2 separate regions of the Homo sapiens genome follow, and region 2 is linked to region 1. The links are contacts of gene promoters, found by promoter capture Hi-C in human tissues and cell types (Jung and others, 2019). All regions are on one chromosome and are shown on one strand. Each heading gives the region's core, a stretch centred on a gene start or on the middle of the fragment in contact. The rest is flanking DNA. Distances are from core to core; before and after follow the strand shown. Region 1 holds the start of PAMR1 (peptidase domain containing associated with muscle regeneration 1). Region 2 has its middle 28 kb from the start of COMMD9.

Evidence for each region. Contacts are between HindIII fragments. The study calls those that stand out against the background at their distance.
Region 2: a contact is called between a fragment that was not itself captured here and the fragment with the promoter of PAMR1 in region 1, in 2 of the 25 tissues and cell types used here (bladder and mesendoderm cells).

What each region holds. Positions count from the first base shown.
Region 1 is chr11:35,523,998-35,528,299 of GRCh38, forward strand. It overlaps PAMR1 (peptidase domain containing associated with muscle regeneration 1), which reads right to left and starts at 1,619. Exons shown (of 11, transcript NM_001001991.3): 1 at 1,516-1,619. The coding sequence starts at 1,588. The HindIII fragment of the contact is 6,683 bases long and covers 1,025-4,302 here.
Region 2 is chr11:36,259,013-36,263,452 of GRCh38, forward strand. No RefSeq gene overlaps it. Among named protein-coding and RNA genes, the nearest start is that of COMMD9, 28 kb to the right of the region's middle. The HindIII fragment of the contact is 7,628 bases long and covers 1-4,440 here.

The sequences.
Region 1 (4,302 bases), core at 369-2,868:
TAAAACAGGAAGCAGGGGAACGCTGATGTAACCCTGAGGAATCAAATCCACTGAGCCCTGGCACTCTGAGAAGAACCAGGTCCTCTGGAGCTGGTCCACCGACACCATGCAAAGGCGAAGATGAAGTAGGGAGGTGCCTTAATGCAAAGTCACCCACTTACCCCTAGGCAAGTGTTTAGGTTTATGGATTGTCAGCCCTTATGAAGGGCTCCTTCTTCCTTTATTATTGTCTTTGGGCTGCTCCAGACACCATGGAGGCAAAATTCAAATGAAACACTCACCATCTTTATTGTAAATCATTAAGGAAGATCCTACCTGGGCAGGCAGGCTCTAGGTAGATGGAAAGTATTGACCAAAATGAAGGGCAGGGGGGTTTGTGTATCTCAGCTTTTCGTTGATCATGAAGGGATGTGCCTATGGCTAAGTTTCCCTTCTACACAGGTTATTGCATTTAGTATCCTCCCCACCCGACCTGGCCTGTTTCATTCTCAGGCACTTGCCAGCTACTTGCAGCGGCAGAGCACCCAGCTCTCAGATAGAGTTCAGGTGACAGGTAACCAGCACAGAAGGGAAGCAGCGAAGGCTCGTACATAACCTGCCCCTATTCAGAGCTGCCCCGTTTGGTCATTTCTGTACATCTCGGCCTGCCCTCATCTCATGAGGTCTCACTTTACCCCCTGGGCCATAGAAGGACAGATGTTCCTATGACGTTCCCACTTCCCCGCCTGCCAGCAAGCAGGATCTGCCATGTCCTCGCTTCTGCCCTTAGCTGGATCTCCGTATCATGTCCCAGCCTCATTTGTCCCCAGAAGCCCATTTGACCTGGGGATTGTGGCTTAGAAAATGATATATGAAAACCAAAGAAGCCAGAGCTCTTTCAAAACAAACCCTATGCATCCCAGAAACAATCTGCACTTTTAACCTTGGCTTTTTCTTCTTTCTCACTCTCATCAGAAAGGAAGTGTGTCTATATATGCTGAGTGAGTCAATCTCCTGTGCTTGGATCTACTCCGAAGGGGTATGGCTGTAGGAGTTCGTGAAGCAAGATTCACCAGAAGAACACCAAGCAAGCCCTGCTCTTTATTCCTTTCTTTCTTTCCCTCTCTTCTTTCTTTCTTGCTCACCTCTGAGGGAGCCCTTTCCAAGAGAAACTTCGCTTTTGCAAGTCAGAGCGGGTAACTCAGAATTGATTCCCTAAGGCAATTTGGTACTTTTAAAATGATAAAAAGAGCAAATAAAATAGGAGCTGGTCCGCTTTCCTGAGACAGTACAGCCCCACGATTTGGGATGACAAAACCACGTCACAGTCTCAGGGAGGGCCACAGGAGCTCCAGCACCACCAGCCAAGTCCCTAAAATTATCACTGGAAAAGCACCACCCCCCCTCAACCCCTCACCCCAAACACACACAGCCCACCTCCTGAGACTCCCAGTCCTGCTCCCAGGCAGACCCCAGGAGGAAAATGCTCCCTCCTAGGGTGTCCTCCTAGGGTGTCCCGGACGCTACTCACAGTACCTCTTGGCAAGGACGAGATGAGAAGGAGCTGAAGAAAAGTGAGCCCCAACTGCGTCCAGCAACCCAGCTCCATCCTTGCCGCGGCTGGTGCCCGAGCGTCTACTGGGGAGGGAGAGGAGGGACCCAGGGAGGCCGGGGGCAGGCGGGTTTTACAGGGACCTCCCCGAGCCCCAGCTGAGCGGGAGCTCGGGTTTCAGCTCGCCAGGCTCTCCCATCCTCATCTGAGGGGAACCACCTTCAGCCAGAGCGACGTCAGCCCAAACCTCTCCTCTCTGCTGCCTTAACCCTTGCGGGGCCCCGGGAGGTGTGGCCACGCCTGGAGACCCGCGGACGGCGGCTGCAAAGGAAGCTGCGGGGGAGGGAGGCCAGCCTGGGTACAGGTGGGGTCCCAGTGTTGGGTGCTGGGAGGAGGGGCCATAGGACCCTGGGCGGGAGCAGAGGTACCCAGGGCTGCGGGGCGCTCAGGTGAGGCCGGGAGATCTTCCTACGGGAGGCTGAGACGGGAGCTGGCTTTGCCCTCTCTGACTGCACGCGGGGAGCCTGATTAAAAGCCTGGCCTGAGGAGAAGGAGGAGTTGGTGATGGGAGGAGAAAGGGAGCCTCCCTCCACTCCGCACGCAACACTCCTCGTTTATCTCCTTTCCTCTCCGTTTGCTCCAGGTGATCACAGGTTGGAAAGCTTATTATCTTTTGCAACTACAGGCTACTGGAAAAAGTTTTCCTCTTCCTATGATCCCCGTCATGGTGAATTCAGCGACATAAGCAGCTCCTGAGCTACTGGAAAAAGTTTTCCTCTTCCTGTGATCCCCACGATGGTGAATTCAGCAACATAAATAGCTCCTGCGCACACGCCAGGCAGGGATGGCGAAGAACACACAAGAACCCTCACTGCCTCCACCAAAAGGGCTCAGTTTAGGTACAAGATAGCAAGTGACATCTCGAAATGAGGAAGAAGGATGTTTCATAATAGGTGACTTTTTAAAATAAACTCCTCCGTGCCAGGTGTCATGTACCTTACATGTATTAACTCAATTATTCCTCACAATAAACCTAGCCTCTGTATTTTACAATTAGAGAAACGGAACCATTGAGGATTACAATAACTCATCCAAGGCCACACAGTTAGTGAGGGGCAGAGCCAGGGTTTGAACCCGGGCAGCTTAGGCCCACAGGCTATAGTCTTAGCCACTAGGCTATAGAGCTTCTTAGGATGCTACATATGCAGAATTGTATTTCACCATTTGATATGGCTTCGCTGTGTCCCCACCCAAACCTCATCTTGAATTGTGGTTCCCATAAACCCCACGTGTCATGGGAGGGACCAGGTGGAGATAATTGAATCATGGGGACAGTTACCCCCATAAAAGTTTTAATTTTGTTCTCTAGATGTTGGCGGGCCCTGGTGGTTTACAAGTAGGGTGTGCTGAGCTCAAAGCAAAGTCTCGGGAAGAGAAGTCACCCTGGACTATTGATGAAGGCCTGGAGTAAGGATTAAGAAATGGAAGTGGAAGGGAAAAGATAAGGGGAGAAACCTGAGGAAGGTAGAATCTGTAAAGCTCAGGACAGATCAGAAGGTCAGGAGCCCTGACACAGGTGCTCTACTAGAAAGAATTTCTGAACTCCAGCCCTGCTTCTGGGGGCCTATTGCAGTGAAGTGACTGGAAGCAAGAACTCAGCAGGCCTGTGTTCTAATTTTGTTGATTCACCACTTTCTGGCTGTGTGACCTTAAGCAAGTTAACTCTCTGAATCTCAGTCTTCTCATCTATAAAATGGAAATAATAATCAAACCTACTTTGTAGATCACTGGAAGAATTTAATAAGATTACGCATGTAAGGCCCATAGCACAGAGCCTACCACATATTAAGTGCACACTAAATATTAATCATTATCTCTATTATCTGACCTGAGACTGCCCCCAAGAACATCTCATGGTATGAGTCTTGTTCCTACACTCAACTTCCATATCGAGATGAAATCAGTTAAAATAAGCACCAAGAGTAGCCTTAAACAGGAGCAGAATACCAGAGGGCAGCATATACCTAAGAGGTAGAGGGCAGAGGTTCGAAGAAGGGAGGTTCACCTTGTTGCTGGCCAACCAGTCCTGGTCCTTTGGTGATGGGAGTGGGAAGAAGATGACTTAGTTCCCAAATAACTGTAGGCATAAGAGCCTCTCAGGAGTCTGTTTCAACTCCAGCTGACGGCACCTGAGCTTTACAGATTCTACCTTCCTCAGGTTTCTCCCCTTATCTTTTCCCTTCCACTTCCATTTCTTAATCTTTACTCCAGGCCTTCATCAATAGTCCAGGGTGACTTCTCTTCCCAAGACTTTGCTTCGAGCTCAGCACACCTTACTCCTAAACCACCAGGGCCCACCAACATCTAGAGAACAAAATGAAAACTTTTATGGGGGTAACTGTCCCCATGATTCAACTATCTCCACCTGGTCCTTCCCATGACACGTGGGGTTTCTTTTCATCTTCCCTCTCCCCACCTCCCAGCCCCCACCACACACACCTCTCTGAGTCAATACCAAGCAGCCTCATCCCTACATGAATTGCATCCCCCTGACAGAATGGGGCTCTAAGTGATGAACCTGAAGGATAGCAGTCTATACCACCCCCAAATATGCCCCTTTGGCATAAGGATTATTTTGAGCTGAAAGCAGTTAAGAAGAAGTAGATACAAGAATAGGTCTCTGTTCTCCCCCCATTTTCCTAAAAGCAGACTTGAATTTATAAAAGTATAGTGTCTCCACCTCCCCTCTCTACCAGGACGGACAGAAGTTA
Region 2 (4,440 bases), core at 1,816-4,315, 740 kb after region 1:
GTGTAGTGAGGCCCAGAGTTCTGTGTTGTGGTAGCCTCTGAGCCCTGGCAGCTCCAGCCCTGGGGAGGACTATCCGTGCAGCTTCCACTGTTTGTCTGGATGGAGTACAGAGCTTCCGCAGGTGCTCCATCTTCGTCGGCAGCAAGGTTCAGAGGGAAAAGGTCCAGGACAAAGCTTAAGGAAGGACAGGTCAGCAGGGACCCACTTCTTCCTACTCTCCCACAGCTGGCCAGGCTCCCAGCAGCCCCACCTCCAGCATGCAGGAGCAGCTGGGGACTGCTGGGCTGGAGACGGCATGAAGGTGCTGTAGAGGCACCCCTGGGAACCACTGTGCTGGTGGAGAGGGACAGAAGAGAGGAGAAAGAGCTTCAGAACAAATGCAGACCACTCAAGACTTGGTTCTCCCTGGGGCAACCTCCCAGACCTAAGTCCATTCACTCACTCACTCACCAATATTTGAGACACCAGTGATATAGCCAAGAGGCAAAATGAGGAAAGAAGCAGGGAAGGAAGAAAAGAAGGGAGGGAGGAAAAAGAGAAAGGGATGGAGGAAAAGGGCACAGGCCCCGCCCTTATAAACCTCATAGCCTAGTAGAAAAAAAAACAGGAATCAAAGAATTACAGGCCCATGAGTTGGAGGTTCCAGCCAGACTGAATGAGCGTGAATTCCTGCAGTCAGTTCTGAGCCCTTCACTGTCTCCTCTGAGCCTTTGCATGCGCTGTCCCTCTGCCTGGCCATCTTCCCTGTGTCCCTCCCTCCTTTATCAGGGGAGGGAGCAGAACTGAGGCTGGGCCAGTAGGACATGTTCACTGGGGCAGCTAAAGGCTCAATTGAGGTCTGAGGAGGGGAGACTAGCAGGGCAAATAGTCCTGCCGCTGCTATCCGTAGACGCTTCTCATTCAGAGGGACCATGGCCTGGGGGGCTTTCTTGTGATGACCCTCAGCAGTGACATGAGTGGGATGGGGTTTCCAGTCCCCATGGCATGTGCTTCCCCTCAACCTTTCACCAACGACCTACCACGTGCCAAAGACTAAGCACTGGGGATAGAAGGTGAACGAGACTGGTGTGGCCCCCCGCCCTGCTCTCAGACCTGCCAATCTCCAGGGTTTGTTTTCTTGAGACTCCTGACGCTGCCTGGCCCGAGTCAGCACTAGGGATTCCTGATCTCTGCATATCCCTTCCCAGCCATCCAAGATAGCAAGAGCTGTTACCCTCTGGCTAACTCTTACTTATGCTTCCAGTCTCAGTCAGATGTCATGTCCCCAGCTCAGCCTCCCCGGGGGTCCCTTGACATGGTCCACAACCCCTGTACCTCCCCATCATTGCCCTGGGCCAGAACAGGCTCTGACTGTGTCTCAATAGAGACAAAAAAACTCTGAGATCACAATACCACTTTGGCTTCCTAATTTTCTGTCCAATCTTTGGGGGGCCAGTGCCAACCAGGCCTTGAAGACTGATATTCCTCTATGGGATGAGAGATGCTTGCCTCCCTCTCTGGACTCTTATGGGACCAGCAAAGGGGATCCAGCCTTTCTTGTCGTCAGAAGGCATGAGCTGTAAATGTGATTCCCCAACCTGGCTGCATGTGCAACGCTTGGGGAATTCCTAAAAATACAGATGCCTGGGACTCTGACTCCAAAGACACTGCCTCAGGAGATCTGTGCTGAGATCTGGGCATATACATTTCTTGGAACTTTCTCCAGCTTCCTGTACAAATCTACCTATTGCAGCAGCATTTGTAATAGCAGAAGGTTGGTAACAGCCTAACTGTCCACCAATAGGAAACTGGCTAAATAAATCATAGTCCATCCAGACAATGGTATACTGTGTGCCCTAGAAAGGAATGAAGAAGCTCTTAAGTACTGATAGAAGGAGACCTTCAGGATAGGTTACTGGGTTAAAGAAAAAAAAAAGCAAGGTGTATAACATATACTATTTTTTCATCAAACTTTAATCAAACTTTTTCTGTAAAGAGCCTGACGGTAAATATTTTAGGATTTACAAGCCACGTATAACCTCAGCCTGGAGGCGCTGATGTGGCTTCAACAGAATAAACCTGTAAATGGAGTGGATCACAGAAAACTGAGGTGTTAGTCCTGAGTGGCCACTGGAGAAGACAGGCACCTGTGTTAGGACCCTCGGATGGAGGCTTCTGAAGAACCTACAGAGGCACCTGATGTTAAAGCACTAGCTTTTACCATTCTCAACCGCTAGAGCCAGAGAATAACCCTACAAAGCCAGCCAGCTATCCCTCCCCACTGTCCTCCCCACACCAACCTTGCCCTGCCACCTGGAATAACATGCATCCCCCCTGCCATGAGATAGCCTTTTGATGTTACCACCTCCTGAGCCTCCTTCTTTCTTTCCCTCCTCTATTTCCAGCTGCTCCTAATGTCACAAGGCTCCCAGACATCTACCCAGCCTCCTTTGTCTCTGACCGGTCTCGGTCCATCTGGGGCAGCCATCCTTCTCCTTGTTCCTGGAGCTCCCAGCTTTAGATCACTGGCACTCCTGGGGGGCCATCTCGTCGATTTTGACACTTTTATCTTCTGAGGATGATCCTTTTCCACACTGTAACTTCCCAGCCCTGAATTTGTCCAGAAACTGAAAACCACTGGACGTGGGGCCAGACCTAGCTGTGACCTCCAGCAAATTATTTCTCATCTCCAAGGCTCTGTTTCCTGATCTGAGGAAGTGGAGATAATAAAACCACCGCTGAGGGATATGAGGATTCAAAGACCTAGTGTGCATGCCCGCCAGATGCTTTGTGTGACAACTTCTGGTGCCCAGTGTGAACGTGGAGATACTTTGCCCTCTCAGCGGACTCATCTCAGTGGATTAATCAGAAGTGCACACAGCTTTTGGGGTTTGCTGTGGAGAAGCTTGTGCTGCTTGGAAGGACTGTGGTTCATGAAAAAGCCCCTAGATACCCTCAGCTCCTCCTACCCCATCCCTGCTGCAGAGGCTCAATTTATATCTGTGGTCAGGGCTGAGCCCGGAGGTCTATACCCAGAGCCGCACACCTAGGAATCGAGGGAACACTCTCTGAGGAAGCTGACTTAGAGACTCGGAGGTGCCTTCTTCAATCCTGGCAGCTGCCTGGTGCTGCTGGGCTTGGGAGGATTAGAGCAAGAAACCAGGGGCTGAGCACAGTGGCTCACGCCTATAATCCCAGCACTTTAGGAGGCTGAGGCAGGAGGGTTGCTTGAGCCCAGGAGTTTGCAACCAGCCTGGGCAACAAAGCAAGACTGCATCTGTACTTTTTTTTTTTTTTAATCAGGTGGGCTGTTGTGGTGTGTGATACTTGGCAGGCTGAGGTGGGAGGACTGCTTGAGCCCAGGTGGTTGAGTCTGCAGTGAACCCAGATTACACCATACTCCAGCCTGGGCAACAGAGCGAGACCCTGCCTCAAAAAAAAAAAAAAAAAAAAAAAAAGAAAAGAAAAGAAAAGAAAGAAAGAAAAAAAAAAGAAAAAGAAAAGAAAAGAAACCCTATCTAGACACAGAGCCATTGCAAAGAGCCAGCAAATATGTTTGATCTGTCAGATATGTTTAGCAGTGGAGGGAGCAAAACTGAGGCTGGGCCAGTAGGACATGTACACTGGGGGCGGCTGAAGGCTCAGTTGAGGTCTGAGGAGGGCAGACGAGTGGGGCAAATAGCCCTGCCCCTGCCATCCATAGATGCTTCTCATTGAGAGGGACCATGGCCTGGGGGGCTTTCTTGTGATCTCGATGACACTCAGCAGTGACATGAGTGGGACGGGGTTTCCGGTCCCCGTGGCATGTGCTTCCCCCCAACCTTTCACCAAGGACCTACCATGTGCCAAAGACTAAGCACTGGGGATAGAAGGTGAACGAGACCGGTGTGGCCCCCCGCCCTGCTCTTGGACCTGCCAATCTCCAGGGTTTGTTTTCTTGAGACTCCTGACGCTGCCTGGCCCGAGTCAGCACTAGGGATTCCTGATCTCTGCATATCCCTTCCCAGCCATCCAAGACAGCAAGAGCTGTTGCTTCTCTTCTCAAATTTCTCCCTTGGCTTCTTGATTGAGAGTTTCATCCCAGCTATGGTTTAAAAAACAAACAGCAAACAAACAAACAAACTAACCACACACTCAAACAAACCTCAGACTGCACAATGGAAGCACTGCCTGGAATCATAAAGATCATTTGTTCAATGTCCCTTTTTCTCACTGCCAGGCCAGTGCTCTCGTCTGCACCATGGAACCCATTATGACTTGAACCTTTCCAGATTGATTCCCCATAAACCTAATGAAGACATTGGAAAGGTGAGCTGAGGTAAGGTCGTGAAGAAACTCTAATGGAGCCCTATGGAGTTTGGAGTTTTGACAGCATACTGGGGACAATGGGAAGCCATTGACAGAGAAAAGCAGGACAGTGCCATGATGCATCTTCCATTCATTTATTACATTCAGTTAGCA